Linked DNA regions of Homo sapiens: region 1 is linked to region 2. The links are contacts of gene promoters, found by promoter capture Hi-C in human tissues and cell types (Jung and others, 2019). All regions are on one chromosome and are shown on one strand. Each heading gives the region's core, a stretch centred on a gene start or on the middle of the fragment in contact. The rest is flanking DNA. Distances are from core to core; before and after follow the strand shown. Region 1 overlaps GRIA4 (glutamate ionotropic receptor AMPA type subunit 4). Region 2 holds the start of GRIA4 (glutamate ionotropic receptor AMPA type subunit 4).

Region 1 (5,633 bases), core at 1,283-3,782, 51 kb before region 2:
GAAGATGTTATTATTATATAAATGGACTATTGACTTCAGTGTCATCTTCGAAATGGACCCTACTTTCCAGCCATATAAAGTTTTGAAAGTTTCCCTATATTTGAGTCATTTTAAAACGTTTATTTCTCTATGTTCTTCTAAGTGCTGCTCCTTAATGCTGGAATACCTTTCTCCCTGGTGTCATCCACATCATCATCTAGTTCCTCTAAGAAATGGAATTTCAAATGTTAGATTTCTTTTGCAAAGCCTTTCCCTATTCCCTTATTAAAGCTAGTCCTGTCATTGTCTCTATTTAAGTATCATGCTGGAAATACTTCTATTGCAGCACTTGTCACTTTAAAATATATTCACGTTTTGATTTTCCCCGTGAGACTATGAGTTCCTTGAGAGTAATGACTGTGCCTTACTTATCTGTAGAGCTCAGTACCTGGAATATAGTAGATGTGCAATAAATGTCTGTTGAAGAAATAGATGAATTTAGAGAATCCCAGTTATTGATAACTAAAATGAGAACTAGTTGTTGAACTAACGTACTATTGTGAGCTTTATAATTAATTTTCTTAATTTTTAAATTAGGAATGTTATGAACCTTGAATATATAATCTAAATTAAAAATGGCTTGAGTAAATCAATGAACTTGGTAATAAAGTTATATAAATCAATGAACTTGATATAAAGTTATATTTTTTAAGACAGTTGTCCTTTTTAAAACATTTTATTTTCAGAGGCATGAGTTTATAGTTATTATAAACTCAATTATAAAGATAGGCTACAAGGATATTTTAGATTATCTGTCGTGATTATTTTTTGGCAAGACTGTTCCCATTCACTGGTTTTGAGATACTCTTATTTTATGTATTTACTCTCTGTGTCATGGCTGTAATTTGGTGTCAGAGATAGTGTGAGTGTCGCTACAATGATGTCTACATATGGAGTTTAAAGAACACAGAGGGCCCTTCTGTTGCTCTCAGTAACTCTGAGAAAACCTCAGTCTCAGCCTGGGAACTTACTGTCTCTGCTTTTTAACCACTGGCTTTTTTTGAAATGTGTAGCTTTCTGCCACATCATTTATTTTAATCAATAGATCTTTCTGCAATGGATGCCCCCTTTGTGATCGAACACTTGCTTTGTTACATATTATTTTCCATCTGTCTCAAAGTTTCACTTCAGAATGAGTAAAGAATGAGTAAAGAAGTAAAACCATTTTTCTCTCTAAAATTTCAATAGTTATATATTGCTGTTGCTTGCACACTATGGATTCTTCTTACTGATTTGACAGATTCCTTTTTCGTCTCTAACTTGAACTCTCCACTTTGGTCTGCTGACATTCTCGCTTCCCACCCTATCCTTCTCCCCACCAAAGACTAACAGTGTTTTTTCCTCTGTATCTGTTTCCATGCCTTTCTGCCTCATGGAATGCAGTTCTCCTTTCCTTTCTATCTGATCTTGGTTATTTTTTATCAGTGGAAAAGCTTATAGTTTAGAAACAGGCAGACCTAGGTTTAACTTCCAGTTTTGCCAGTTAGAGATACATGCACTCAGACAAGCTAATCAACTGATCAAACTCAGTTTTCTCACCTGTAAAATGAATATTTTTAGAAGGGTTAAATACAATAACATATTCAATTGCCAAATTTTTAATCTAGTTTAGTCAATAAGTGCATCAACAATGATTACGTTATGACTCAAATAAAATGTCATCTGCTTTGTTAGTTCTTGCCTGCTTTGCCACATTGCATTCATTTACTGTGCCAACTTCTGTTGAGTTTATATTCTTAAACATTCATTTGATGTGCACACACACACACACACAAACACACACACACACAGTTTTCTTCATTGAAGGTCTTATTAATCCAACTTTGCAGTTCATTAGTGGTTGTGTGGAAAAAATATAGTCATTTTAAATTTCCTTTCCTCATAGAAATATATAAGCGTGATTAAGAAAAAACAAAAAATATGTAGAAAGTTCTATAATGACAAGGAAAATCTCTTGCCTATCTTTCTCTAGTCCTGTTCCCTAGGGACAAGTGGGCTCAAAAAATATTTGTGTAAACCTCATATTCCATCGTCCAAATTTGACAAATACCAAGAATTTACCATGCTGCTTATCTATTCCTCTTCTTTTTCTCTCTGTTTCAGTTGGACTATTTAAAAACAAAGTCGAGATGTAATTTTTTTCATCAATTTATACGTCAACATGTATAAAAAATTAACCATGAATTTCTTTAAAGGTATGAACATTTTCTTATGTAATATGATGCCTTTTTCTTATCTAACAAAATGCATTTCTTGATTTCATCTAATATCCAGCCCATCTTCACATTTTTCTACTTATCTCAAAATGAATTTTTCCCCAAAACTCTGAATCAAAATCCAAATAAGGGCTACATAATATTATGTATTATGTTTATTTGTTTTGTGTCTTCAGTATCAATCTAGAGCAATTTCTAGGGGGTAGTGACTGTACCTCATTAAACAAACCAATACTCATTTTATGTTATTATATCTCTATATAATACTCCTATACTTCTCTTTCTATGTATATCAATTGAAGGCATAACTTATTACTGTAATAGATATAAATACAACTCTTGTCTACCCATGCTTTTCTCTCCAGACCCTGCTAACATAGTATTTCATCTTTCTAAGGTATCTATTGATAATCTATGTATCATTAAGTAATATATTTAATTCCTTATTATGTCACACTAGAAAATATCTCATCTTCCACTTTGAAAATTGGTGTTAGGGCTTCTAGCGTTTGCTTCAGTGTTTTTCACACCCACCTTTCTAATTCTGAAATTTGAATTTTTTCTTCTATACAGTCAAGGTTAAGAACACATACTTTCTCTTCAGAAATTGTAGCTAGGTCTTCTTTACCTTCTCTATAAACTTATCTACAGGTTGATCCTAAACTTTGAAAATAAGTAAGTCATGTTTACGTTATTATGATAATGAAACCTCTCTCACTTCAGTAACAAATAGTATCAAATGACTGCAATTGTATCTATATATGGAGATATAGATATATAGATATGTCTTGGAGTTTTTCATGGACATTCTTTTTCTTTCAACTTTTTGCCTGCATAATAGTCGATTCCCCCCATCCCTATCTGTTTAATATTACATTATGTGTTAAGAACTGTTTTTTTTCTGTCTCTTTCAGAAAACCCAGTCCTACAATATAGACTCTTAATTCTCTAGAGAAATTATCATGAGACTTCATCTTATTGTTCTCCTTGTTTCCTGAACCCCATACCTTCATTTTTAAAAATAAATTTTCCAAGAACAATATCTGTAACATAAATTTTCTGTGTTCAAGCATATCTGAAAATATATTCATTCTACTCTCAAATTTGATTGATAGTTTTACTGTTTACAGTATTCTAAGCCCAAAAAAATCTAGGGTAAAAATGTCCCTAGATCTGTAATGTCATTCTTAGTCTGATATTGGACATTCAATACTTTTTATGAGAATTCTGCTGCTATTCTTAATCTCATTCTTTGTAGATAACTAGTTTTTCCTTTTTAGCACCTGCTCTTTATCCTTTGGGTTCTAATTGATTTCTAATTTTATTATCAGTGTTTTGGACACCTAGTGGATATTTCCATCTGGAATTTCAAATTCTTGAGATCTAGGGAATTATCTTTATGTGCTTATATTTTCAAATTAAATTTCTCTTCATTTTTTCCTTCCCCTAGAAATATTATTAACCAAACGTTAGAACTCCTGAATTGATTCTCTCTGACTCCTCTTTTGTTTAACGGTTTTTCTTTTGTATGCAGTTCTACTTTTGGAAGCTTTCTTTGACTTTGAATTTTAATATTTTTATTATTTTGAAAATTTTACCATTGTTTTTAATTTCAGTAGTATCTTACATTATTCACATTATCATGACCTTGTTTGATATCACATTGAATTTTTCTGAGAATATTAGTTAGAAATTTTTGTTTTAAGTGCATCTTCTATTCATCTCTCTCTTTCCTCTGTGGTAATTTTTGTGATGTTCTTTCAGTCCTATGATACAGGCTTTCCTGAAAAGTCTGGTGTCTACTGCCATTTGTTTATATTTTAGAATTAGGAAATAAAAAATTGACTAGAACTCAGTGGAAATAGAAGGAGCTTGTCAATTAACAAGCTTTAGTTTAAGCTGTATGTCAGGAGCTTTTGGGTGCAAGTAAAAGAACATTCACTTAAAGTGGCTTACACAGTATGGACCATCTATAAACATAGAGGTATGTTGTTCTAGGGTTAATTTATGAGTTTAGTGATGCTACTTAGGGCACAGACTCATTTTTGTCCTTCTTCTTTGCCATCCTTGATAAATTCACTTCAGCATTAAGCTGGTTCCCTAATCACAAATAACTGTGGCAATTCCAGGTATTCTGGGTAGATATAATAAATGCAATGAAGGAAAATAATGTTTTCTTCAGAGACACTTTACAACAGTGAGATAAACCTTTCCTAGAAGTCTCTTAATATCTCTCCACCTCCACTTGTTCAGAATTGAGCCAAATCGCATGCCTAAGATGTAAGAGAGTCTTCATAAGTAAGTACTTGGCATTGTAGCTTCTTGTGACAGCCATGCTCTGCCAATAAGAACAAGTTTACCTGGAAGATGACATAGGTGAAATTTGGGTGACAATCCCCGCAGCTACCACATGGATGATGGGTGAGGAAGCAACTAATGCACTGGAACCCTCAGGTATTTCTGTTTCATGAGTTTCCTTGGACTTTGGCCAAGTTCATTGACTCCTTTTTAGCTTTGTTTCTGTGAACATGCTAGAATATTCTGACAAATTTATCCCATTATTGTCATCAATGTAGATTTATGTCTGTTTACTAGTTGAATATCATTTTATTGGGGTTTTAGGAAGGAGAAGAGATTAACCTATGGATTCAGTCTGTCTGTCATCTTGACTTGGAAATGTAGAGTTTAATTTCAACAGGAGTTCTAATCGCCTACCTATCCTTTCCATTCACATGTAAGAAAAAAATTATTAGTTCATTATATTTTGTTACTTTCTCACAAATAACATCTCTTAGAAATTTCCTCAAAAAATTCAACAAAGACCTAAGGAGGTCTTTGCTCCTTTCAGAGCCGAGTCTTATATCCCTATACATTTCTTCTTGTAAAGATAATGTCAACTATCACTCCCAAAATAATTTCTCTCACTTGCCACTTTGTTTATGAGTATTTTTCCATCTTTGTTTATGAGTATTTTATGAGTATATTTCTTTCTGTATGATATTACTTATATTTGGATTCATGTCCCCACAGAAATCACCTCCATTAATCCCATGTCTACTTCTTTTTATCTAGAATAGTGACTTTTTCTTTAGTTTTCCTATACACATTCCAGATTCTTTTATGATGCAATATATTATTTTATAAATTCCAGGCCATTTGAAATACTCTGTTTAAAGATCAGTTCCTGTTATTCTGAAATTCATGTTTACAATGTAAATTAGAGGTTTAAAAAGAAGAAAGCTGTTCAGGATGAAAAACAAAAATTCATCTTATCTTTATTCTATAAACTCATGGCAAGCAGCAAACTCATCTAAATGCATATTTCATATTTGAATACTAGAAATATATGTATTTTATTAATTTCTATACCTATTTCAA
Region 2 (6,220 bases), core at 232-2,731:
GCGTGCGGGTGGAAATGTCTTTTTCCTCAAACAGTGTCTTTCTGTAATAGCAAGAAAGCTGCGGCGTCCAGAATGGGAAGAAGTGGATTTTTTTTTTCTTTTTTAAACAAACTCGACATCACTTTATGCTTTAGAGAAAGGGATGGAAATAAATATCATATAAAATACAACCAAATTCCCCGAAGACTTTCCCCCAACTTATTTCAATCCTACTTAAGCGACTATAGGTAAAGGTGGAAATAGGGCTATGGGCTGAGAACGCATGGGTGGGCTGCCCTGGGTGTATTCCAACGGAACCTGCACTAAAGAGGAAGTCTTTTTGCAAAGGAGAGAAAGGAAGAGGAGGGAAACAGAGGGGAAGGGAACTGCTGAAGGTTTCCCTGAATTGCTTATCAGCAACTCATTTAACTCACTTTCGGATATCTGCTACAACCAGCCACATGCACACCCCATCGGAGCACACCTTACCTATTTGCACGCTGCTCGGAAAGGCTCCCATGGCGAGTCCCCAAAATCCAGAAAATAACAAGACAATCTGTCTGGAAATAATCCTCATCTTCTTTTCTCCTCTCCCTGGCGCGCGCTCTCTCTCTTTCTCTCGCACTCTTCCTAAAGGCTGTTCAGAGAAGCATTGAAGACGATGGCGCTAAAATTAAAATCAACCAAAAAAAAAAAAAAAAAAAGAAAAGAAAGAAAAGAAAGAAAAAAAAGGAAAGAGGTTTCGGTGGTTTAAGATTATGACTAGTTCTCCTTAGCAATCCATCGCGAGCCGCCAGATTTTTCCCGCAGTCTCCATAGCCCTGGGAGAGGTTTTCTGTCCGGCTGCAAATGTTGCACATGCAAAAGATGGTGGTGGAGCGTCTAGTGGCTGCTCGCAGGGATGAGACATGCGCTCTATCTTTGCCTCACTCGCACTCGCGCTCGCCCCTTGCTTTCTCACATACACACAAACACTGGCGCCGCGGCCGCCACACGCGCTCTCCAGCTCGCATCAGCCGACATCCCCCAGCAAGCCTGCACCAGCCCGGAGCATCGCTGCCCTCCTGGCGTCCCCTCCTCGAGCGCGCACTCCCTCCGCACGCCCCTCGCCCACCGCTCGGCTGGCTTCACCCCCTGGGTGCTCACCGGAGCGCCCCAGTCTCCCGGACGCTCCGGAGCCAGTCTGGTGTCAGGTTTTCCCTTCTGACCACTCGCTGACTCCCTCCTCTTTTCTTCCTCGGTTCGCAGAGGGACCGACTCTGGGGATGGGCACCCCCAGCGCCCCTCTCTTGGTTTTCCTGGCACCTCTGCTTCTCGGCTGCGCTAGGCAGAAAATCCGCCCACGGGCCAGGTCTGCAAGCCCCAATCGGGGGCTCCGGGGGGTTAGTACCTCCCCATGCCCCCAGGCCCCTGCCGCATCCTTGCAGGTTCGTGAGGAGGACGGGCTGCCTCCCTCTCCTACAGTCCTGGCTTCCCTCTCAGCCTAGCCCTCTTCTGCCACTGGGCTGCGCGCGGGGGACTCCGGTCCTCGCTGCAGCAAAGATTTCTCACCAGCAAACAGCCCGGGAATCTGGAGAGCCTGACAAGGGAATGGATGAGGTGAAAGGGTTCAGAGAGGGATGGGAGGAGAAAAGACAGGCAAAGGGCAGCCCCTGGCGGGTTTAAGAGGCCAGGACCAGGATGAAAGAATTGGAGGAGGTAAGGATGGGGAAGAGAGCCAGAGAAGTTGAAACATCCTGGGAAGGGGAGGAGGGGGTAAAAGGTTATTTTAAATAACTGACGAAGTTTAGGGTACTGAACGGGATGGGGAAAAGACTGAGAAATGAAAATTGAAAGAGGCCTCTAACATTCTCTTGGAAAGGCATGAAGCAGGGATAGGAATAAGAACTGCGTGAAGTGTAAAGTAGGAAAAGTGATTAAAGATTCGATTGCTTTCTATACAGTCACCCATTCCGGAGGACTCTTTCCTTCTGTGCTGTGGCCCATTGCAGGAGCAGGAGGGACACAGCGCAAAGGCTGATGAAGGACCAGAGGGGCAGTGCTTGGGGCAGTGGGCACAGGTGTCTGACAGGAAGATAGTGTTTCGTGCACATCTCCTCTTGTCTGGGACTCTGGAATGCTCACTCTGCTCCACGCCACCTCCAGGTAGACTTAAGCACTTCAGTGATGATGTCAATAGTTGTTTTGACTGGGTAGAAGTGAAAATGAATTATCCTAGAAAGTTTTGGGGTTACAGTCTCACTTGCTCTCCAGAGTCACCTTTAAGATTGTCCTTTCATCTGCCTGTCCTGGACTGAGCTTGAACCACACTCAGAAGCAGTCACTGTGGTAGCCGTGAGTGACCGGTTTCTGATTTCCTCTGTATGGTTTGAGATTTCCTGATCTAGTTAGTAAATACAATCTCCTGTTCCAATAAGCTGTGTGAGAGAATCATTAGAAGGAGAGGTTCTCCTTAAACGTTAGGGAACCTAGGGTGATGTCTGCCATTAAATTTTTAAAAAGAATATAGCAAATGCCTAGGTTTGCCTGATATAATATTTGAGACTACAATGCTTAAAGTGGAATTCTTGCAAGGGACTTACAGAAAGCCTGGTAACGGCTTTTTGAAATATACATTACCTTAACTCTTTCAAAATACTTTATTTGGTGTCACTGATTACCTGTATTTGTAGTTTGTAGATGACATTTTAAAATCCCTGCTAAAACTTGAGTGCTTTTCTATTTCCTAAGTTTTGAATTTTATTTTTAAAATTGCATCTTTAAAATAAGTGTCTGCTTTCCCGTTACATTTCACCACAGATTGTTATGAAAAAAAAAACCTAATTGTAACTGTATTTTACAAATCATACATTTGTCATTTTAGTTTGTGAAGTTTTAGTCTTGCAAGTCAAGTGAAATTTGAAGCATTTTTCCTTTTTTTATTTTTCTGTGTTAAAAAACAAGGCTGTGAATAATAGCATTCTGTTTTCTCTTGAAAAAGGATAATAGAGTATGACACATAAAATTCAAGTTAAATTAAAATTTCAAAATCCACCAAACTGTTAAACTCATCACTTGCTTGGGTAACTAGTGAAGCTCTTCCTGATCCAGAGGCAATTATTAACTTTAATTCTTCTCAAAATTGAAAGATTTCAGTTTTCATATGATGTAATAGCATCATTGATATAGATGCAGGACAAGTTTTTTTTCCCCACTTAACTGTCATGATAACACCTGGACTAATATAACCACAGATGACACAACTATATTTTTCCAAAATAGTAATCCAGTTGTTTTTAATTTCTATTTTCCCAAGTAGTTAAAACCTCTATTTTACTTTCTAAACCTAAACTCTCTTTATCTGTATTATATACACATATATTTATAAATGTATGTATCAAATATATTTTCTCTGTATGATACATAGAAATATCATATATACATATATTATATACGTATATACATGTATATAGATGTACATATATGTCAAATAGTTATATATTAAGCACCTATGATGTGTATTTATTCTCCAAGTGTTTGAGATATAAAGTTGAACAAAACAAAATCCCTGATATTCTTAGAAGACTCTTAATGTTTATGAATGCTCACTAATGTGCAAGGTATTGTGCTGAAGCCATACATATATTACCTGATCTACAGAAAATTTTAGGTATCCTTGCATTTGTTAGGTAACCCAACTAAAGATTTAGATTCTTTCTCAAGATTATATTCTTGGTAAGTGATGAAACCATAACTAAGGATGGGACTCAAGTTGTCTGATTTCAGAGACTGGGCTGTCTTTATTAAAACCTGCTGTGTTAATGAGTTTAAGGAGTGACGAGGGGTCTGGGAGCTGAAAAGTAAACTACAAGAATCCTAGCATTCAGAAAGGTAGTGTGTTCTACCTGAAAGACCTCAGGCTTTCAGACTAATAATTAGTAACTGGTTTCAGATTACAGGCCCTCAATTTCTTAGCTGTATTGACTTGGATATATTACCTAACATTTCTTTTCTGACAGGATATAAGTAAACTTTCAACACAGTTCTGGCACATAACTGGCAACTCTTGTCAATAATGAGTTGCCCCCCAAAATGTGATAAAGGCTCTTATAGAGTGAGGTGCAGAGTGCCATGTGAGCAAAATAGAGTGTCTAACTCTGACTTTGAGGGAATTCAGGGAGAACTCACAGAGAGAAAAATAAAATTGAACTGAGTTGCTATGTGTTTGTAGGGATTATCAAGTGGAGAAAAATTATGTCTTTCTAGACACTGCTAAAAGCTTGGTAAAACTAGACTTCAGGTTATATGAGGGGAAGTAGTGGAAGTGCGGCTGGAAAGCAAAGCAAGAGATGGCTCGGCACCATCTCACTCAGAAGCATTGTCTTCGTCTCATAGAGACAGAGAAACAATGAACGGTTATAAGCAAGGGGGCAAAATGACCAGATTTGTACTTTAGATCAGAAATCTGATGCTAGGAAACCAACCCATATTTTTAATAATAAACCTTTCATTTGGAATAATTTTATTTACATAAGTGTTTCTAATTAACTACGGAGAGTTCCCCTGTACCCTTCATCCAATTTCAGTTTTCCTTAATGTTATCATCTTACATTACTCTGGTACCTTTGTCAAAAATAAGAAACTGACACAGGTATGTCACTGTTAATTAAACACCAGACTTTATTTACAGTTATATCAGTTTTTCCATTAGAGTATTTTTCTGTGCCAGGATCTAGCTCCGGACACCTCATTATATTTAGTTGTCATAGCTCCTTGTTCTGTTTTGTGACAGTTTCATCTTCGTTTTTCATATGACATCAACAGCTTGATAAGTACTGGATAGGTGTTTGCAGAATGTCTCTCAATTGGGATTTGCCTGATACTTTTCTCAGGATCAGACTGGGGTTATGGATTTTCAGAAAAGAGTACCATACAGGTGAAATGCTCTTCTCAACACATCATACAATGGAATCCATGATATCCCCTGACGTCACTGGTGACATTAACCTTCATCAGTTGGTTAAAGTGTTTTTGCACATTTTATCCACTCTAAATTAACTGTTTGTTTGTTTGTTTTTATTCCATACTGTATTCCTTGGAAGTGAGTAACTAACTATATCCTACTCTCCACGAGGGGAGAGTATCTACATAAATTACTTGAAATTTTTGTATTGAAGCATCGTCTCTTCTCTCCCATTTTGAAAAAACGTAGTCATTAATTTAAATCAGTGTGGACACATGTATATTTATGTGTTTATATTATTTTTTAACATTTAAGCACAGGGATACATGTGCAGGTTTGTTACATAGGTAAACTTGAGTCATGGGGGTTTGTTGTACAGATCATTTTATCACCCAGATATTAAGCCTACTACCCATTAGTTATTTTTCCTGATCCTCTCCCTTCTCACACCCTCCACCCTCCAAAAGGCCCCAGTGTGTGTTGTTCCTCTCTGTGTGTCTATGTGTTCTCATCACTTGGTTTACTGTTCCTGTGTCAGTTTGCTAAGGATCATGGTCTCCAACTCCATCCATGTTCCTGCTACAGACATGTTCTTGTTCTTTTTTATGGCTGCATAGTATTCCATGGTGTATATGTATCACATTTTCTTTATCCAGTCTATCATTGATGATAATTTAGGTTTATTTTATACTTTGGGTTATATAGTCTGATACTATGCTATTTGTTATTTATTGTGCTGTTCAAGTTGGTCCAGCTTTGGACATTAGGAGCTATTGATATATGTCCATCCTTTTGTTTTCTGAACATTTCCAGCCTTATTGTCACTATAGGAAGCTGTCTGTACATTACCTTTTATATTCCTTGCCCTAGCCTTAGTATGAGCCTTTTCAATAAGGAGTCCTGATTCTTTTCATTGCAGATTGGTATTTAAAAACCAAGATCTAGCAATGGGGTTGCTAACTGTTACTGAGTTGTCATTGCTTCCAGACTCTCACATAGGACAGTGCTTGGTTATACATGTATAACCCGTGTTGGTGTACATACCTATAATTGTTTCTCTATCCATCTATCTATGTATTAAGTTAAAAATGAGTTGTTACCGATGTTCGCAACTAAAATTCAGTACTACAGCATTCATTCTAATCTCCCTTCTTGCTTATCCGTACCTTACTTCTCCAACATTAAGAAACCTAGTTCCCACAGCCAAGTTAAATACATTTATCTATTATATTAAACCTAAACTTAAGTTCTCCAAAAACAATTGAATTTTTGGTACTATATTTTTGTTTTCAGCTACTG

Evidence for each region. The method cuts DNA at HindIII sites, captures the fragments that hold promoters and counts their contacts. A contact is called where the count stands out against the background at its distance.
Region 1: a contact is called between a fragment that was not itself captured here and the fragment with the promoter of GRIA4 in region 2, in 5 of the 25 tissues and cell types used here (adrenal gland, aorta, hippocampus and 2 more).

The regions. Positions count from the first base shown.
Region 1 is chr11:105,658,188-105,663,820 of GRCh38, reverse strand. The region is part of intron 3 of GRIA4 (glutamate ionotropic receptor AMPA type subunit 4); the gene reads right to left. Among named protein-coding and RNA genes, the nearest start is that of GRIA4, 51 kb to the right of the region's middle. The HindIII fragment of the contact is 5,638 bases long and covers 1-5,351 here.
Region 2 is chr11:105,605,334-105,611,553 of GRCh38, reverse strand. It overlaps GRIA4 (glutamate ionotropic receptor AMPA type subunit 4), which reads right to left and starts at 1,481. Exons shown (of 17, transcript NM_000829.4): 1 at 1,126-1,481; 2 at 469-646. The coding sequence starts at 556. RefSeq lists a silencer at 305-505. The HindIII fragment of the contact is 8,669 bases long and covers 1-5,984 here.